Linked DNA regions of Homo sapiens: region 2 is linked to region 1. Evidence: promoter capture Hi-C in 16 types of primary human blood cells and fetal thymus (Javierre and others, 2016). All regions are on one chromosome and are shown on one strand. The core of a region is centred on a gene start or on the middle of the fragment in contact, and the rest is flanking DNA. Distances in the headings are between cores, read along the strand shown. Region 1 holds the start of KRTAP29-1 (keratin associated like protein 29-1). Region 2 holds the start of LOC105371777 (a long non-coding RNA gene).

What was found. Contacts are between HindIII fragments. The CHiCAGO score rates a contact against its expected background, and 5 or more counts as called.
Region 2: a contact is called between a fragment that was not itself captured here and the fragment with the promoter of KRTAP29-1 in region 1, in 3 of 17 cell types (endothelial precursors, M1 macrophages and M2 macrophages). The highest score is 6.8, in endothelial precursors.

What each region holds. Positions count from the first base shown.
Region 1 is chr17:41,300,345-41,304,817 of GRCh38, forward strand. KRTAP29-1 (keratin associated like protein 29-1) reads right to left here and starts at 2,507. Exons shown (of 1, transcript NM_001257309.1): 1 at 1,482-2,507. The coding sequence starts at 2,507. The coding sequence ends at 1,482. The HindIII fragment of the contact is 6,603 bases long and covers 1-3,287 here.
Region 2 is chr17:40,849,453-40,853,925 of GRCh38, forward strand. It overlaps LOC105371777 (a long non-coding RNA gene), which reads left to right and starts at 1,346. Exons shown (of 3, transcript XR_934754.3): 1 at 1,346-1,408. The HindIII fragment of the contact is 2,913 bases long and covers 832-3,744 here.

The sequences.
Region 1 (4,473 bases), core at 1,257-3,756:
CAACTAAGTTGAAATGTGGTGTGTGTCTGTGTGTGAGTGTGTGTGTGCATGTATGTGTGTGCATCTGTATCTGAGTGTGTGTGTGTGTACCTGTATGCATCTATATGTGTGTGCATGTGTGTGGGTAGAAAAGGTACTGAAGGCAATACCCATACATAGTTAGAAATAAAAGGAAAATACCCATTAGAAGACTAGAACAGATCTAGCTACTTGAACTGTTGAAATGATAAGCCCACCTATATCTAGGGATTCAAGAAGCATTCAATGCTTCTTGAATTCAATTCAAGAAGAGATTCAGTGCTGACATTAGTCAATTCAACTGCAGGTAGAAATTCTCCACCTGGACCCTTCCATGTTCAGGTGCTAGATTTTGTTCTTATGGCCATCCCCCTCTTTTTTGACCCAGAACCTTCTTTCAAGACTACGACCCTTGTGATTCTAAAACTGGGGATAAAACAATTAATAGTCTCTCTACAGATCCAAAGTATACCTCAGTGACAGAAAAATGTGAACTATGAAGATTTGTTTGCTAGTTACCAAATTATTGCTGCTCACCTACAGGTACACCCTTCATTGCCTGCTCTATGATAATACAAAGGGATCCTATGAATATTTCTCCTTAGCCAGCTGACACAATGTCCCAGGCAGGAGAATCGCTTGAACCCAGGAGGCAGAGGTTGCGGTGGGCCGAGATCACGCTCTTGCACTCCAGCCTGGGCAACAAGAGTGAAACTCTGTGTCAAAAAAAAAAAAAAAAAAAAAAGAATCTTAAATGAATTAACCCTAAGCTATTCTCTATGGCCAATACCTCATGTTTGTTTTCATCTGTGGCTTTCCAGAACCATTTTTGTTGTTGGCTTCCTGTCTACTCACTATAGGGAAAATGAGCCCACTCAGCTCAAAAGAACTCTTGGTGGTGAAAATTTTGGAAGCCAGTGAACTGTTTGCCCTTACTCTCGTCCAGCTGGAGAATCTATAATCCTAGACACTAGCTACCCTTGCAGACCAATGCAGACCCACTGACTTAGATGACTCAGGCTCATTGTGTTCAAATGTGACCTGAAGGAAATCTACATAGAGGTGTGTGTAGGAATGAAAGCACTCCAGGAGTCTTATTTATTATACTTAACCAGTCACATTTTTATTAGCAGCTGGCAGCAACGAGGTCTTCTGAAAGACCAGGCAGCATCAAGAAAGAGAAACAAGAGAGGGTTTGCTAAAGTGAAATGAATTGACATCATCAGGAAATGCAAGCAGCAGTGTGGTAGTCCATGGTTGCTGAAAGGTTATTCTCGGTTAAGAAGGATCTCTTCGTGCCTGGACAAGTTCCCTGGTCAGCACCTGGAGAGAATGTGAAGGTGGAATCAGGGTAAAGTTAGAAAGCAGGCAGCATTTGTACTCGGTGGGAGGCAGGCACCCAGGGATGGCTATGCATTTATAGACAGCCGCAGACCCTCAGAGGAGGTGTGAAGAGGGCTCCATTAACAAAGTGTTGCCTTGCAGAAGCTGGACTCACAGCTGGGTTGGCATGAAGTCGGCAAGCAATTGGAGCCACTACTGGGTGATGTGCCTAAACCAGTCACACAGCAAGCTGATTTGCAGCCACTCTGGTTATAGGAAGGGGGTCCATCACAAGTTGGTTGGCCAGAAATCACAGTGTCACAAGAAGCTGGTTTGCAACAGTTCTTTGTGGAACAAGGGGCCTGGCAGTTAGCCACTGGCTGGTAGATGAAGCATGTGGAAGGAACCAGTTGGCAGTGAGGTGGCTGGCAATGGGAAGGCACACAGCAAGTAGTATTGCAAGAACTGAACACACAAGTCGATGGCTGGCAGGGAACAGGCATGTAGAGGGCTGATTGGCAAGGCTTGAAAATATAGCAGATGGGTTGATAATAAGTTGATTTACAGGGCTGGCCTTCACCACTGACGGGTTGACATGAACTTCCTTGGCACCAAGTTGGTTGGCATGGACTAGCTGTACAGATGGTTGGTAGGCAAGAAGTTTCCGGACAGGAGGTCACTTCAGAGCAGGATGGCTGGCAGGATCCAGCATCACAGCAGACTGATTGGCCACAAGCTGCCTGACATGATCCAGACATGCAGACAGATTCCTGGCAGGAGCTTTGCTGGCAGGGACTGGCATCGCAGCACTTTTCCTGACAACAAGTAGATTCCGAGCAGGATGGCTGACATGAGCTAACCAGACAAGGAGACTGACCAGTGCCAGACTGATAGCAGGCTGCGTGGGAGCACATAGGTTGGCAAACAAAACCCACACAAGACGTTGCTGGAAGGCGGGTAGGTTGACACGAAGCAGGATCACAGCCACTTGGGGCACCAATGGATGGCTGACAGCTTTCTTGGCATGTGACCAGTTGCCACATTCTGCTGTGGCAGGAACTAGGCAAACAGAGAGCATGTCGAAATCCACCTTTAACTGGGTATGTGGTGATGGTGGGCACAGCTGGAATGGCTGTGGTGTTTCCAGGACAACAGCCGTCTGCCATGGTGCTGGTGCTGACCTTGCTGGGAAGTTGCAAGCTCAGTATACCTGCATTGGAAAGACATCCGATACAGAGGGGCTTTTATAGTCCTTCACTAGGGGTGTTGGCACGCCATGCAGCATCTTTCCTTGTTATTGTTTTTACTCATTTGCATGCAAACATCTGATTAGCAGGCTTCAGGAGCCTGGGAGATGTTTCAACTTTGAAAAGGTGTCTGTTGAGTCGGGAGTTTTCTGCGCTGCATTTGGATTCGTTGACACTGCTCCTGCTCTTGGATGAGCTGTCTCTTTTACAGGTTGCTCTCCAGCCTCACTGAAGCAGGCCTTTCCTGGCACTAACCTTTCATCAGGAGGCCTCTGCCAAGCCAGAGTGGCCCTGCTGTTCCTCCAGGAATGCAGCTTTGCACCATTCAATCAGAAATGAAGCCTTGACCCAGTTTGGGGAGAGGATGTCAAGACGGGAAATGGAAAATTAGTCCAAGGAACCCAGGGACACTTAAGTGCCTCTACCTCTTTTTAAAACCTTCCCATTTATCATTCCTGAAACTTGTTTACTAGTACTATTACTAATAATAACAATAGAAATGGCTTTCATTTATTGCATAGTTACTAGATCAAGTCCTTGGCTGCATTTTTCACTGGATCCTCACAATGACTTCAGTAAGTATAATTGTCATCACTATGTTAGAAGTGGCAAAACTAAAAAAAAGTAATAAATAAAGAAGAAACCAGGTTTAAAACAAAGTTAAGATTAAAATATAAAACTTCATTGGCCCTTTTAGGAAGCTTAAAATCTCCCCCAAATTGGTTCCTCTCAAGATTTTTTTAGAACAGAAAAGAAGAAAACAGAAGTGGCAAAACTCATAGAGTTTAAATCATGTTCCCAAAATTATGCAAATGAAAAGGGGTAGAAACAAAATTCAAACCTAGCTTTGTCTGACCACCAAACCCCTGATCTTAACCACCTATTAGACCCCCTGACTTTGGGGAGGCAGGGAGAAGGCGACACTGATATAGTGGCTGCAGGCTGACACCCCTATGGCAACAGACTGGCTCGTGAGCAGGTTGCCCAGGCCCCATCCTGGGGATCCTCCGCCCACTCCAGTGACTGTAATCAGCAGCTAGACCACACTGGTGTGAGTACTTACCTCTACTTATCAATACACTCAAACACAGTCTTTTAATTTTGGAAATTTTTTAAACTACCAAATATTTCATCAGGAAGTATCAAACCCACCCTAGGGCATCAATAGCATATGAATTCTATACAAATAAAAACACGCCAGCAGTGATAATAAAAAAAATCACTGTAAAGTGGTGTTAATGTTAAACCAATCCCTTCCAAGAGGAATTCGTGAGGGACTTTCTTGGCCCTTCTGCTTTTCCTCCGGGCTTGTCCTGGCTCCGCATCACCAACCAGGTCCGGTGTTCTACACCAGCCAACGTTCTGGCCGGTTCACGCTGGAGGCACATGACGGAGTGGAAAGATCACGGTGTGGGGAGCCAGATGGGGCTGGCCTTGATTTCTGGCTCTGCCACTAACTCATTCTGTTGAATATGTTAGCTAATTACCTAAGTCTTCAAAGTATGGCGATTTCATCAACTGCGTTGTCATGTCTCAGGTTAGTTTTTTGTGGGTGTTTGTTTGCTTTGGTTGCTTCACAAATTATTGAAAATACTGAAAACGCTGAAGGGTACTTTGCAAACCCCCAGCTACAAAATGCCTTCTCCTTGGCACCCTCTTCACCTCCATTTTAAAAAGAAGAGAAACATTTTTGATCAGAACAATGTCTGGAAAACCTTCTCCCCTGCCATTGAAATGCCTTTTTCCCCACAGTTGGTTTCTATGTCACACCATGGATCACTTCTTTTGCCCTCCTTCTTGTCTGTATTCATGTTGGCATCTTTCAATCTGCAGGAATCCATGCACTGTGTTTTATTGCTGAATATTTACCCCCAAAGCTCTTCAT
Region 2 (4,473 bases), core at 1,038-3,537, 450 kb before region 1:
ATCCGTTTACCGGAATTTTTCAATCATGTGTTATGAATGTATAAACCTAATGTGATATTTCTAAACATCATTTCAACCTACATGTATTTGGCATGCCCACATTTTCTGCCAGATGCTGCATTAAGTACTGGGGACTTATTTCTGGATGGCCAATAATACCTGGCCCAGCCTTTGAGGAGGAATAAGATACAAAAATTCGTCTTCTAAAAAGGAAGTGCAGACTACCTGGGTCAAGGAACTTATGGTTCTCAGCTGGTGTGATGATTACTTAGTTTTATGGGAAAACACTCCAGAGGACACGCTCTTTGGTCCTATTCTTGCCAATCCACTCCCATTTAATACCATATGTTGAAATTTTATGTACTCCTCAAGGCTCTGCTCAGATGCCTTTCTGCTGTAAAGAGTGGTCCTCATATCCCAGCCCTTTATATTACCTCCCTTTTCCAAACTTCTGTGGCAGGTCACTTTATACCTGGCGAGGCAAGGTTATTTGCATACCTGACTAGTCCGCTCCCATTTGCTTCCATAGTGACCAGTAAATATTAGTTTGATTGAGAGAAAAGTGTATTTTACTTATTTTTAATTTTTATTCCTAACTGCTAGACCACCAAAGAGAGAGAGCACAATGTTTTTTAGATAGAACACCTCGTTATTAAGGGAGAACAAGTTCTATTTTGATCTAGATTGGCAGGAGTATTACATTTTCAGACTGAATATTTTCATGGAAAGCCAGTGTTCCATCAGCCATTTTAAGATAACTCAGTTTTGTATCTATGGTTAGGCGATTGCCTACATACAAAGCACACTTTAATGACGAATTAGAGGATTCCAAGCTTGCCTTTATAAGTGAATATCTACAGATTTTTTTTTCTTATAAATACTACATGGAAACCAAGTTACTCTATGTTTTGAAAGCAACTTCTAGTACTCTTTAGATGTATGGGAAAAAGTCCTCAGGTTAATTTCCTTAAGAAAAAGCGTCATGAATTAAAAGACTGCTTGTTGAAACTGAAGATCACTTTCTACTGAGTCACCAGATATTGAGCAATATGATTTATATCAATATGCCTTGTGAAATTGTCAAGTTAAAGATTGTACATATTAGATAAGAAAATTTTGTGTCCCTATAGAGTGACAAGTATCTTGAGGGTTTTCTGGAAATATTGAATTCAACAAATATCTCAGTAAAATGCAAACAACTTCTTGATGGATTTTTTAGTCTCAAACAGCCAGCCTAATTCCTTTATTAAGATTTAAGGAGAAGGAAGTAAGTGGAATTCAATTTCATATGACGCAAGCATATTTTAAATAGAGTAACCAAAACAAATAGATTCAAATGGAATCTATGCAAACCATCCTCTTTGCTTCCTTTGTGATGGACACTCCTTAGCTTCTGCGCCTTAATAAGGTAGGGTTTGTTCATTCAGTCTTTCCAAAGATAAGTGTTGGAAAATTTAGAGTTAATAAATCAGTGGATAAAAATTCAATGACTATTTCAAGAAAATAATAGAAGAAATATATCGCCACCATTCAATGTTTGTGCAACCAGTGTTTATTGAGTGCTTTTAATGGTACCTAGAGAGTAATACAGGTGGTCAAGCACAGTGGCTTATACCTGTAATCCAAGAACTTTGGGAGGCTGAGGTGGACAGATTGCTTGAGCCCAGGAGAGTAATACAGGCATTATTCCAGCTTTTACTGAGTGAATATTCTAGCATTTGTACGTAATTCTGTGCACAGGTATTCAACAAGTATTGATTGTCTCCTATGCAGTAGGGTATATGTGCTGTTTTATGCACTGTGCTAGATGCCAGGGCTACAGTGGAGGGCAAAACAGACATGGCCGCTGCCCTTAGAGAGAATGCAGTGGTAGAGCCAGACATTATTTCAATATTCATACAAATAAATGTATAATTGCAAATTGCGCTAAGAGCTGTGAAGGATAACTACAGTATAGTATGAGAAGGTAGAATAGGAGAACCTGACTTGGTTAATGAGGGGCATTTGAGTTAGGACCTAACTGGTGACTAGGATTGTTAACTAGGCCAAAATGGGGGTGGAGGCTCATTCTAGGTAAAGAGGGAAAGTTTGTGAGAAGCTGCCAGAGTGGGAAGGAGCATGGCGTTAGAATTTACTTGACTGTAGTATTGCTGTCACTCAGTATATGTATATCAAAACCTCATATGCTGTATATCTTAAATATATACAAAAATAAAGTAAACAAGACCAGTAGGTTTGGAGAAGATAGAGGGGGAGAGAGGGCACACGATTTGAAAGAGGGTAGAGGGGGCCAGGCCAGGCCATACCTTGCTGGGTTTTGGTCTTTATTCCAAGGACAATAGGAAGCCTTTGAAGGCCTTTAAGCAATGGAGTGACTGGATCAGCTTTTTCAAAATGATCCCCCCAGCTCTGGTGGAAAGAGTGGAAGAGAGGTGGGTACAGGTGGAAGCTGTGTGGTCAGCCAGGAGAGAGACATAAATAGTGGCTTGGATGAGGAGGCAAAATACCAGATATGGCCAGGATATGTATAGGTATCTGTTGAATGAATGAATAAATAAATCTAGGGTCAGGAGACTTGGAGCTTGACCTAGTTAAAAAGCTACAATTGAAAGATTTTTAGATCAACATTGATAGAGGAATAATTTTTCTTTGATTGTTTAGTTAAAGTTCAATTTAACTGAAAGGTAAAAGCCAGTTAAAATAATGCTTTATTATTTGATTTTTTTTTCTGACAAAATGAAACATAATTTAAATGATCCATAGTGATCCTAAATAGATTTTTAGTTCAGAGATAAATTATCATAAGGACATAAGATGTTTGGATATATGTGTATAGCAAGTGTTTTATGATACATATTCTACATGTTGGGAATGTAGTTTTATATGATTAAGTTTTCAGAGTGCCAATGCTTTGGAAAGTGCAGCTAAAAAGTCTCCCTGTGGACAAATTGGCAAATAATTGTGTAACCTGCTACTTCAGCTTTGTGTCTTTGGTGTTATAATATTATATTGTCCTTTAGCTCCTCAGAAATGATCTCCTCTTTAATGCAACTGTTACCTGTGTACCCTGGAGGTGACAGATAATCATGATAATGATGACTAAAACTTTCATCAGGTTCTCCTCCCTACTGAGACCTTCCTTTCCCTTGAGCAGTTCTTGTCTTCCCACTGGCCAGCGTTCAGTTCTATCTCCTTCAGCTCTGCAAGCTGTAAAAACACCTTCCATAGTCACACAGGGGAACTGAGTAAAATTCTCCTAACTTCACATCACCTGAAGGACTTTTTCTTACCCCTAGCCTCTGAGTAATAACACTGAGAAGGACTTCATTGTTGTGCTTTCCTATAACACCACTGCTGGATTCTGATTAGCCTGGATCTAATTCTGTAGTACTAATTTTTGTTCCAGGATTATCTCTATTGGATGCTGATTATATATATTTGTATTTTTTAAATGATAAACATTTATTTTATTATTTGTCAGCCTACTCAGTCATATATTAGATAGGCTAGGGAAGTTTAACATTAAAATTATCATCCAGAATCAGCACATAAGGCTGTTTAAAATGGGTATCCAGTGAAAACACCGTAAAGCACCTTGGGAGGTACTTTTTATCCAATGTAAATTGTAATATACAATGTAAAAACTGTATGAAACTTTATCATGTATTTGCCTTTAGATCATAAAAACTGAGGTTATTTTCAATAGACTATGTAGAGTCTTACATATAGTTGGTGCTAAATAAAAGCTTGTTGAAGGAATTGAAGCCATCCTCACAGAATTAAGAATTCTGGGCAGAAATGTAGTTATAATTAAGCTTTAACCAGGCTGCACTTTGACCCACTTCCTTGTAACTAAACATCACATAACCTTAGATTCTGACCATTTGCATCCCCATTGTTCCTGTAGATAGAAATTCTAATGTTAGAACCATGAGGCTTTTGTTTAAGAATTGCTTAAACGGATCCTGAATTACTGTGGAACTGCTAACGCCAACCAATTTAAAGACTCCCACAGACAAACCAAATGAGCATGAGAGTACAGTTTCTTTCTCTCCCTGTCCTGGGACTTCACCCTGTACTCTTCAACTAATCAACAATCTCTATGCTTTGGCTCACTCCAAAACTCTTAAAAACCCTCGCCCCAGAGTCCCCGGGAAGATGGATTTGGGGTTTTCTCTTTTCTCCTCATTTGTTGGCCTTACCATTAAACCTCTGTCTCTGTTGCAACCTGGTGCCTCTGGGTATTGACTTGCTGTGAACATCCAGGCAATGAACCTATTACAGCTACAGAATGAATACACAAATAAATGCATATGTGATGCCCCACTTGTATACATAAATAAGCCAGCGGAGAAAACCAAACACCACATGTTCTCACTCATAAATGGAAGTTGAACAATGAGAACATGTGGACACAGGGAGGGGAGCATCACACACCGGGGCCTGTCGGGGAGTGAGGGACTAGGGGAGGGA